3 separate regions of the Homo sapiens genome follow, and regions 1 and 3 are each linked to region 2. Evidence: promoter capture Hi-C in 16 types of primary human blood cells and fetal thymus (Javierre and others, 2016). All regions are on one chromosome and are shown on one strand. Each heading gives the region's core, a stretch centred on a gene start or on the middle of the fragment in contact. The rest is flanking DNA. Distances are from core to core; before and after follow the strand shown. Region 1 overlaps SMARCA4 (SWI/SNF related BAF chromatin remodeling complex subunit ATPase 4). Region 2 holds the start of ELAVL3 (ELAV like RNA binding protein 3). Region 3 overlaps KANK2 (KN motif and ankyrin repeat domains 2).

Region 1 (3,573 bases), core at 18-2,517, 440 kb before region 2:
AGGGAATGTCACATGTGGTCGAGAGGAGAGGCAGGGGTGCGGGTCTCGGAGAAGGGGACATTGCAGCAGAGCCTTGAGAGAGGGGAGGTTGGGGAGAGTGCACCAGCAGAGGCCACAGCAGGCGGAGAGGCTCTGCCAAAGTTGTGGCCTGGTGGCCTCAAGGGATGAGGTGGGATGAGGGGTTATATGGCAGTAATGGGTGCTGCCCGTGTGGCCAGGAGGTTGGGGACAAGAGGCTGGCATGTCTGGAGCAGAGAAAGTGGCAGCCCTCTCCTGTCCTTGCACCCTCCCAGGCTACCTGTGCCATCTCTGTGTTGGTGAGATGGTGGCCACACTCCTGCTCTCTGCCAGGCCCTGCTCCAAGCCTGGAGATCGCTGTCCTCACAGACATGTCCTATATACGAGGCAGCATGCGGTTCCAGCTGTGGCCACGGCCCAGCGGCGGATCATAACGTGTTGGTGGATCATGAGTGCCATTTATATGTTTTTCATTTACTAATATCCTTTTCCGTGAGCGACTCTATATGGGTACCATTTAAATAAGAAGAAAGGAATGTTCTCAGCAACTCCCCAGGGAGGCATGTGCACCTTCTGCCAGCCCAGGGCAGGTCACAGAGCTGGGCAGGAGCCAGCAAAGGTGTAAGGCCCATGCCTGGCCCAGGACTCACCCAGTCTTCCACTCTCCAAGGTCTTATTTCACTTCCTGGTACACACTGGCCAGTACGGCTGTCCCCGTAATGGGAGGGTTGTACTGTTTGATTTTAAATAACAGTTTGCTGTTAGTCATGAAGCAGAGCGTGGGGGAATTGTATCTGTTGGAGGGGAAAGTGAAGGGAGCCCACATGCATGGTTTGGAGAGAATCTTACCAAGTGTGAAGTTTTAGAGGATGGTAACAATTGGAGTGCCTAAATTAATGAGTCAAAATTACCGCGCAAGGCCAGCTGTGGTGGTCCACACCTGTCAGCCCAGCACTTTGAGAGGCTGAGGTGGGAGGATCACTTGAGGTCAGGAGTTTGAGACCAGCATGGACAACATGGTGAAAACCCATCTTTACTGAAAATAGGAAAACAATTACCTGGGCGTGGTGGCACGCTTTTTGGGAGGCTGAGACAGGAGAATCACTTGAACCCAGGAAGTGGAGGTTGCTGTGGACCAAGATTGCACCACTGCACTCCAGCCTTGGGTGACAGAGCAAGACGCCCACTCCAAAAACAAAATACTGCTTAAAAAGGTTCTTTTAGCCAGATGCGGTGGCTCATGCCTGTAATCCCAGCACTTTAGGAGGCCAAGGCGGGCGGATCACTTGAGGTCAGGAGTTTGAAACCAGCATGGCCAATATGGCGAAACCCCCTCTCTACTAAAACTACAAAAATTCGCCGAGCGTAGTGGTGCATGCCTGTAATCCCAGCTACTCGGGAGGCTGAGGTAGGAGAATCTTGAAGCTGGGAGGCGGAGGTTGCAGTGACCCAAGATCACATCAGTGCACTCCAGCCTGGGGGACAGAGTGAGACTCCGTCTCAAAAAGAGAAAAAAAGAAAGGTTCTTTTATTATTGGAAGAGAAACAGATGATGAAGGAAAGGAGACATATTCAAGTTCAATGCCAGATCTGAAAATGTCATGTGTTGTCAGTATTGAGAAAAAAATATATAGACTCTAATTCACAAACCTAACTCCAAGGCTAAGTCCTCAAAGAGGAAAGCAAGTGGAGGACTTAAGTTACTTAAAGTGCGGGATACAGCTGCGGGCAGTAGCACATGCCTGGGGTCCCCACTACTTGGGAGGCTGAGGTGGGAGGATCACTTGAGCACAGCAGGTCCAGGCTACAGTGAGCCATGATCACACAGCTGCACTCCATCCTGGGTGATGGAATGAGACCCTGTATCTTAAAAAAATGAAATAAATACAGAATACTTATTTAAAACATGGGCCAGGTATAGTGGCTCGTGTAATCCCAGCACTTTGGGAGGCTGAGGTGGGCGGATCACTTGAAGTTAGGAGTTTGAGACCAGTCTGGCCAACATGGCAAAACCCCATCTCTACAAAAAATACAAAAATAGAAATTAAACTGGCATGGTGATGCGTGCTTGAGCTCCCAGCTCGGGAGGCTGGGCACGAGAATCGCTTGAACCCAGAAGGCAGAGGGTGCAGTGAGCCAAGATTGCACCACTGCACTCCAGCCTGGGTGACAGAGTGAGACAATACCTGAAAAACAAAAAACAAAAACAAAAAAAGGGAATTCGCAGAAATCTAATGACAATGACAGACCCTCCCCATGTTTTATTTCTAATGATAATCTTGTGAGGGAAACTTAACATTACCAACCTAAAGAAGACCCTTGAAGCGCAGTGGGGAAAGCACGGGTGTCTCCATCACACTGGTCTCCTGGGTATCCACGTAGAGAGGATGAGCCTCGACCACCCCCACACACGCACACACCATGCACTTGGATCCACGTGACATGGACTGTGGATGTAAGAACGTGAAAGGTAAAACAAAATTCTAGAAGAAAGCACGGGAGAAAATCTTCATGAGTAGGCATCGATTTCTTCCACGGGAGCCAAAAGCCACTAATCACAAACAATTGAGAAATTAGACCTCACTGAAATTAATAACATCTGTTTATTAATGGACACGCTGATGGAGACAGTGAAAACTCCTCATAGATGAGGAAAAGACAACACAATTTAAAGCTGGACAAGAGCCGGGAACAGACGCCTCCTTACACAGGACATCCCAGGACTAATCAATGTGGGGAAAGGTGCTCACGTCATTGCATTAGCATCACAACTTCAAGAAAATGCTCGTTAAAACCAGAGTGACTTGCACCAGCACCCGCCCCAGAACGGCCGAATGCCCATCAGTGCTGGCAAGTCTGAAGCAGTCTGGCCTCACACCCTGCGTGTAGGAGTATGCAGCTCTTTGGCAATCTCTTCTGTTTTGCTTTGTTTGTTTTTAACCATCGAACTGCAGAAGATAATATTTTCTGAGGCTCAGCCTGTACATACCCTCTGACCCAGCAGCCTGCAGCCCTCGTTCTACCCAGGAGAGCTGAGTGCATCTGTCCACACCGACAGACGTGTCCATAGCCACTTTGGTCATAATCTCCCAAAACAAGAATCAGCCCAGTGTCCATCTACAGGGGCATGGATCAGTGGAGGCCTAATCGTACAGGGCCCCAAACAGCTGTGAAAACAGACATAGTACTGCTACCTGGAAGAAGCTTACATTTTGTTGAGTGAAAGAAGCCAGACACTAAAAAGGGCATACTGGCCGGGCACGGTGGCTCACGCCTGTAATCCCAGCACTTTGGGAGGCCGAGGCGGGCGGATCACGAGGTCAGGAGATTGAGACCATCCTGGCTAACATGGTGAAACACCGTCTCTACTAAAAATACAAAAAATTAGCCGGGTGTGGTGGTGGGCGCCTGTAGTCCCAGCTACTCGGGAGGCTGAGGCGGGAGAATGGCATGAACCCAGGAGGCGGAGCTTGCAGTGAGCCGAGACCGCGCCACGGCACTCCAGCCTGGGCGACAGAGCGGGACTCCGTCTAAAAAAAAAAAGAGGGCCTACTG
Region 2 (3,451 bases), core at 372-2,871:
CAGAGACACACACGCAGAGACGGAGAGATAGGAAGAGTGGAAGAGGGAGGCCCAGGCGCCGGGACCAGACAAAGGACGCGCGGCGGCGCGGGGAGCGGAGTCGCGCGGCAGGGGCGGGGGTGGAGCCGGGGTGGGGCTATAACTGGCCAGCCCCGCCCCCGGGATACGCCCGGGCTGCCGAGTGGGAATCCGAGGGCTCGGGCGAGGCCGGGCCCCCGGGGCCCTGGGGGCGGGGCCTAGATGGGCGTGCCCGGGCGTGGCCAGGCAGGGCGTGGCAGGGCGGGAGGGGCTGCGCGCTCGGGAGCTGACCAGCTCCGTGGCTGCTGAAAGCACCGAGCGCGGGGCTAGCGGTGCGGGCGAGCAGGCGGGCGGGCCGCGCTCAAGGTCACCTCGCGGCCCAGAGCCTTGGCGAGGTGGGGAGCCTGGACCTGGCCTAAGGGGGCTGTCTCGGCCTCCCACCCCATCTCCCGGGGGGCGGAGACCCGGGAGCCCAGAGGTGCCCCCCCAACCCGCGGGCCCTCCTCTCCCCTCCCCCTCCCCGCAGCCCGAGGCGCCCGCGCGAGGCTGCGGCCCGCGAAGAAGCGCCGAGAAACAAAGGGACGCGGCAGCAGCGGCGGCGGGCCCGCGGGGCCTCCGGGCGCGCCCCCTCCTCTCCCCTCCCCGCTTGCCGCAAGGTCGACGGGCTCGAGGACGAGACGCCCGCCTCCCGGGTGCGGCCGAGGCCCGGGGCGCGCGATCCGACGCCACCCGCTTTCCCAGGGCTCTCGGGGACGCTTTGTCGCTTTGGCTTGGCCCAGCACCAGTGATCGGGCCCTGCGTTTGCCTGGGCGGCCTGCGGGGTCTGGGCCTGGATGGAGGAAGCATCCTTAGCCGCCGCGGCCCCTCCCCCATCAGGCCTGCTGGAGAGGGGGCAATCCCGCCTCCAGGGCGGCGTCGGACGCCTCCCGAATCGCAGTCAGTCTCCCTAAGGCCCTCTCAGACCAAGCTCTAAGCGCCCTCAGCACTCTGGGCGCGGCCCTGCCCACTCTCAGGCCCCGAGGCTTGGTCCTACCCCCCCAACCCGGGCCTAGCTAGGCCTGGTCCTACCCCCCCCGCCGCACCCGCCCAATCTCCGCGGAGCCTGGGCCCAACTCCTCCCCGTCCCGATTCCCTTTCGGCGACAGGGGAATACCTACAGTGACCATTCTTGTGTGCCCGGCGGGCGCGGTCCGTGTTGAGGGGGGCTCCGGGGGTGGTGCACTCCTAGGGGGGCGCCCGATGCTCACGCTGGGGTCCCGCCCGGGCGGCCTCTGGTGCGGCCGCTGCAGATGTGGCGATGAAGGCGGCGGCTCCCTCGAGGGCCAGGGACGGGCCCGAACCCGGGGATGCGCGCGCGGATGGCCGGGCCCCGGGGTGGCCTGCGGGCGGCAGGGGATGGAAAGAGGGAGCGGGCGCGGGGTTGAGGACGCCCCCTGCGCGGCCCCGCGGGGCCCGGGGAGGTTGCGCTTCCCGACAGAGATCGCGGCGCTCTGCCTTTCGCCGCCGCCCCTCGGTCGGTCCTGTCCGGTCCCGTGTGTTCAAGTCCTCTCCCCTCGCCCACCCTCCCTCCCTCCCTCCGGCCCGCGCTGCGCGCTCCGCGCTCTGGACCGCGCCGCCGCCGCCCCCAGCCCTTTATAGCAGCAGCTGCCAGCGCCGGCGTCGCTCATTGGCTGCGGCGACCGAGCTCCGCCTCCTCGCGGCTCCCGACGGCGCGGCAGGTGGAAGTGAGCGCGCACTGGTCGGGACTCTGAATCCCCCAAAAGCGCATCCTAGGTGCTCGGGTTGCCAGATTTGGGCCCTCCTTCCCTCGAGGCCCTTGCTTCCTACCCTGGCACCCCTTCTTGGGCTGGCTTTCGGGCCAGGAGACGGGCTCCCCTCCTCCGTCCAGCTCCTAGAGCTGGAGGAGCCAACAGAGCGAGGAGGTATTAGTGGCCTGAATATGCGACCTTCCAGAGGTGTTGTCCACTGAGGGAACTGGACAGGGGATCAGGAACCAATATTTTAGTAGGCAGAGGCCTGGGTCCCCAGATTTGGAGGCACCAGTGTAGACCACCTCAAGACCACGGGGGAGGGTGGCTACTGTGGCCCTAGTCTTCTGCAGAAGGAGACTGGGACGCTGTTGGTTTTGAGTGAGCTGGATCCTTCTAGGGTTCAAAAGGTAAGGACTGGCACTCCCCAGTGCAAGGAAACTCCGCACTGCTCCGAAGGGGGTGAAAAGGTTTGGGGCTCAGTGTTCTGGACAATCATCGCTGGAGCCATGCAGCTCTGGGAAACCACGGATCCTTCTTGGACCCCACAGAACTGGGGTGGGTGGATCTGCCACATAAATGTCCTGGCTTTCTAGGCTCGTGATTGGTCCTCCTGACTGTGGAGTCATGCTCGCTCTCTGCTAGGGGGAACCTGGCCTCTCTCTAAGGCGTTGGGGGTGGCGCAGCCTCCTTTGGTGCGCGGGCGCCGGTGCATGTTTACGTCGGGGCGCGGGAACTAGCACACACTGGGGCGGGGTCGCCAGGGCGTGAGGCTTCAGCACCACAGACAGCAATCCGACAGTCCGGTCGAGGGCGCTGCCGGCGAGGTAGCCCAGACCCCCTAACTGGAGAGCGGCAGTCCCCACCCAATCCTCGTTCCTGCACGCCCTTTAGGCTCCAGACTGTCAGAGAGCGCCACCAGCGAGGAGAGCCTAATTTGCCCAATCAGGGGCGGCCCTTGAGATAACCAGTTACTGGAAGATGCCCTAGAGATCGAGCCAATGGGAGTGCGCGCACCAGGGGATGCTGCCACGCCTGGAAAGGGCAGGCCAATCGCAGTGGCCCGCGCAATAGGGGCGGTGGCGGTGCAGATCCCCGGGTGGCCCCTCTTGGGCTCGCCGGGGCGACCTGGCTGCGGGCGCTAGGGGCCCCAAGCGATGGTCTGTTCCCCACCCCGTGTTCCTCCCGGTTTCCGTCATCGGAAACTGAGCTAGGAGGGGGGCTGCTCCTGGGCGCGCGGACCCCGCTGCGGTTCCCATGGAAACCTGCCGGCTCCGGCAGTGCGGGGAGAGTGGAGGGGACCTGCCTCGCGGGGGGAGGGAGCTCGCGGGGGCGGCCCCAGCGGCCGGACTCGCTCATCCTTGCCGATTCTTCTGTCCCCGGCTGGGGTAGCCCCCCGGTCCGCAGCAGGAACTGAGGCATAGCTGGGGCCCCGCCTCATCCCCCGAACTGGTGAGGAACCGGCGGGGCCAATCTGCGCGTGGCGCCACAGGGCTCCCCCGGGCACGTGCCTGAGCTCGCGGCTGCGGTCCCCAGGGTCACGTGGCTGCGGCCACCAGGGCCTACGCGCCTCGCACGCCACCTAGCGGCCGCGCCTCGCTCCCCGCCCCTCTCTCTAGCGGCCCGCAGGAGGCGGCGGCCTCAGCATCCTCCTCCGGGAAATGGGGCCAGGGCAGCCGCCGCCA
Region 3 (3,378 bases), core at 286-2,785, 300 kb before region 2:
TTGCCATGTTGGCCAGGCTGATCTCGAACTGGGTTTACAGGTGTGAGCCATTGCGCACAGCCACCTCTAGCCATTTTTTTTTGAGACGGAGTCTCGCTCTGTCGCCCAGGCTAGAGTGCAATGGTGTAATCTCAGTTCACTGCAACCTCTGTCTCCTGGGTTCAAGCGATTCTCCTGCCTCAGCCTCCCAAGTAGCTGGGACTGCAGGCACCCACCACACCCAGCTATTTTTTGTATTTTTAGTAGAGATGGAGTTTCACCATGTTGGCCAGGCTTGTCTCGAACTCCTGAACTCAAGTGATCCACCCGCCTCAGCCTCCCAAAGTGCTGGGATTACAGATGTGAGCCACCGCGCCCGGCCACTTCTAGCCCTTTTAACACAGGTGATTCAGACTCCTGTTCCACTGCAAATAGGGCTCTCTCGTGTTTCTTGCTGGCTCTGGACAAAACCTAATCAAGCTTCTAGGCTCGGCATTCAAGGCCCCAAACCAACCATCACTCCCTGCACCTCCCACTTCTCGTGTCACTCTGCTTTCCCACCTCTGAGCCTTTACCCACGCTGTGCCCCTGCCAGAAGAGCCCTCCCCACACCCTCTCTTCACCTTGCTAGCTCCTACTTCTCCCGTACCACCTGTGTCTCCTCCTTCTGGGACTCCCCTAGGGCCACCTGTGTCTTTCTTGAGGACCTGCACCACCTGAGTGTTCCCCATCACGGCTCCAACCACCCATCAGCACCCAGCTCCCCACTGGACCAGGAGCTCTATCAGGGCAGGAAGCGGCGTCCGGCACCTTCTGTGGGGTAGAGCTGTGCAGTGGTTACACCTTGAGCTCTTGAGCCAGGGCACGCAGGGCTGACTCCTGGGTCACTGAGTGAGCTCCAGAAATGCGCTTAGCCTTCCTATGCCTCAGTTTCCTCATCTCTGTGTTGTGGTTTGATTAAACGAATTAACCAAAGCAAGGAGCTCAGAATGAGGTAATTAGGAGGCTCTCGTGCGTGGATGAATGGAGGAGGGGCGGGAAGTATGGGGTGGGGGGTGGGGTCTTCTCCTCTCACCCGCCGTTGACCCCCACGAACTGGAGGCTCCTCCGGTGGGCCGTGGGGTCTGCAACCTCCTCTTTCCGTTTCATGATAGATCGCACGCCTGCCGGGGGCCCGCCTGGAGGGGAGGACAGCGGAGGTGCTGTGAGAGTCCTTCAGGGCCAGACTCCGAACTGGCGCCATCCCGGTGCCCCGTCCCTCTTGGCGGCCACCCACCACTTACCGGTGCCCCCGGCCTCCTCGGACTCTTGGGAGGCTGCTTGCCTGGTGGGCTCCCTGTGGGTGGGCTCCTGGGTGGGCACTCGGCCTGTGCTCTTCTCAGGCTGTGTAAGGGAGGCTACCTCGGACCCCGGGGGTGACGAAGACGATTCGGCAGGAACTTCTGGGAGGCCTGGAGGGACAGGAAATGAGTGTCTGCTCTTGGTCATAAAAGCCAAACCACCACAGCCCTGCGGGTCATACACCCTGGGCCAGGAGCTGTAACAGGGCTGATTTTTGTGTTACCACATCCAGTCTTCCTGCCCCTTGGAGGGAAATCGGATTATTACAGATGAGGAAACTGAGGCACAGAGCTGCCAAGGTAACCCCTTGAGCAGGTGGCAGAATCCAGTTTGGTGCCTGCCCAGCAGCTAGTCAGGGACAGGGACAACCCTGTGGCCCCATATTCCTGGCTCGAGCCTGAGTGATCGCTAAAAATAAGGTTTGGCCGGGCACGGTGACTCATGCCTGTAATCCCAGCACTTTGGGAGGCTGAGGCGGGCGAATCCCCTGAGATCAGAAGTTCGAGACCAGCCTGGCTAACATGGTGAAATCCCGTCTCCACTAAAAATAGAAAAATTAGCCGGGCGTGGTGGTGCACACCTGTCGTTCCAGCCACTCAGGATGCTGAGGCAGGAGAATTGCTTGAACCCGGGAGGCGGAGGTTGCAGTGAGCAGAGATCACGCCAATGCACTCCAGCCTGGGCAACAGAGCAAGACCCTGCCTCTCAAAAAAAAAAAAAAATCAGAGATAAAAACACGTCTTGGTGGCCAGGCACAGTGGCTCATGCCTGTAATCCCAGTACTTTAGGAGGCTGAGGCGGGCAGATCACGAGGTCAGGAGTTCAAGACCAGCCTGGCCAACATGGTGAAACCCCATCTCTACTAAATATACAAAAATTAGCTGGGCGTGGTGGGGGGATGCCTGTAATCCCAGCTACTCAGGAGGCTGAGGCAGGAGAATTGCTTGAACCCGGGAGGCAGAGGTTGCAGTGAGCAGAGATCACACCACTGCACTCCAGCCTGGGTAACAGAGAGAGACTGTCCTGAAAATAAAAAATAAAAAAAAAAAACACATCCTGACTAAAAAAACGAAACGAAACAAAAGAAAACAAAAGACAACAAAAAACACCCACCCAGGTTGGTCTGAGGACAAAGGTGACTTCCTGGATGCTGAGGTCCTGGACTGCCAGCCAACAGCGTGGAATAAAAGTCCAGTTTCCTTTTTGTGTAGCCACCAATGTCTTGGAATCCACTCAGGTCCCCCTGGGCCACATATGGCTGCTTTGTAAGACAGGGTTTCACTCCCTTCACTGAAGCTTGAGTGCAGAGATGCGATCTTGGCTCACTGTAACCTGTGCCTCCCGGATTCAAGTGATTCTCCTGCCTCAGCCCCCTGAGCGGCAGGCAGTAAAGGCGCATGCCACTGTGCCCAGCTAATTTTCTGTAATGTTTGTAGAGATGGGGTTTCACTATATTGCCCAGGCTGGTCTTGAACTCCTGAGCTCAAGTGATCCGCCTTCCAAAGTGCTGGGATTACCTCCGGAGCAGCACCGCCCAGCCCATGCATGGTTTCTGTGTCAGCATTTCCTCGGGGGTTCCCCTTCCTGTCCCCCGGGGCGCCAACTCTGAAGACCAATTAATTTGAATTCCCTTTAATGGCTAAAAAGGTTGTTGGGGTTTTTTTCTTTGTGACAGGGTCTTGTTATATTGTCCAGGCTGCTCTAGAACTCCAGAGCGCAAGGGATCCTCCCACCTCAGCCTCTCGCATAGCTGGGATTATAGGCATGAGCCACTATGCCCAGCCTTAAATTTTTTTTTTTTGCCATATACAGTGACTTCCTGAGGCCCACAGGCAATATTCAACTTTAGTACAGAACGGTGACCAAATGCTGGACATAGGCAAAGAGTAACATAGACAGGGCCGGCTGCATGAGACACTCGGTCATCGGCATGGCCAACAGCATCCCCAGACCAGGGTGTGGCCAGCTCATACCACAGAAAACATAAAAACCATGCCAGAGCCAAGGCTTGAACTCATGAGTGGGGAACTGAGCGAGAGCAAACGCCAGTTGCTATGT

What was found. Contacts are between HindIII fragments. The CHiCAGO score rates a contact against its expected background, and 5 or more counts as called.
Region 1: a fragment that was not itself captured here is called in contact with the fragment with the promoter of ELAVL3 in region 2 in 1 of 17 cell types (neutrophils); the score reaches 5.3 in neutrophils.
Region 3: a contact is called between a fragment that was not itself captured here and the fragment with the promoter of ELAVL3 in region 2, in 1 of 17 cell types (M0 macrophages). The highest score is 5.0, in M0 macrophages.

What each region holds. Positions count from the first base shown.
Region 1 is chr19:11,041,769-11,045,341 of GRCh38, forward strand. The region is part of intron 30 of SMARCA4 (SWI/SNF related BAF chromatin remodeling complex subunit ATPase 4); the gene reads left to right. Among named protein-coding and RNA genes, the nearest start is that of LDLR, 46 kb to the right of the region's middle. The HindIII fragment of the contact is 3,906 bases long and covers 1-3,220 here.
Region 2 is chr19:11,479,425-11,482,875 of GRCh38, forward strand. ELAVL3 (ELAV like RNA binding protein 3) reads right to left here and starts at 1,622. Exons shown (of 7, transcript NM_001420.4): 1 at 1,176-1,622. The coding sequence starts at 1,184. RefSeq lists silencers at 140-334, 2,709-2,958, 2,989-3,428. The HindIII fragment of the contact is 20,383 bases long and covers 1-3,451 here.
Region 3 is chr19:11,177,291-11,180,668 of GRCh38, forward strand. KANK2 (KN motif and ankyrin repeat domains 2) reads right to left here. Exons shown (of 13, transcript NM_001136191.3): 5 at 1,263-1,430; 6 at 1,055-1,157. Among named protein-coding and RNA genes, the nearest start is that of KANK2, 19 kb to the right of the region's middle. The HindIII fragment of the contact is 2,157 bases long and covers 458-2,614 here.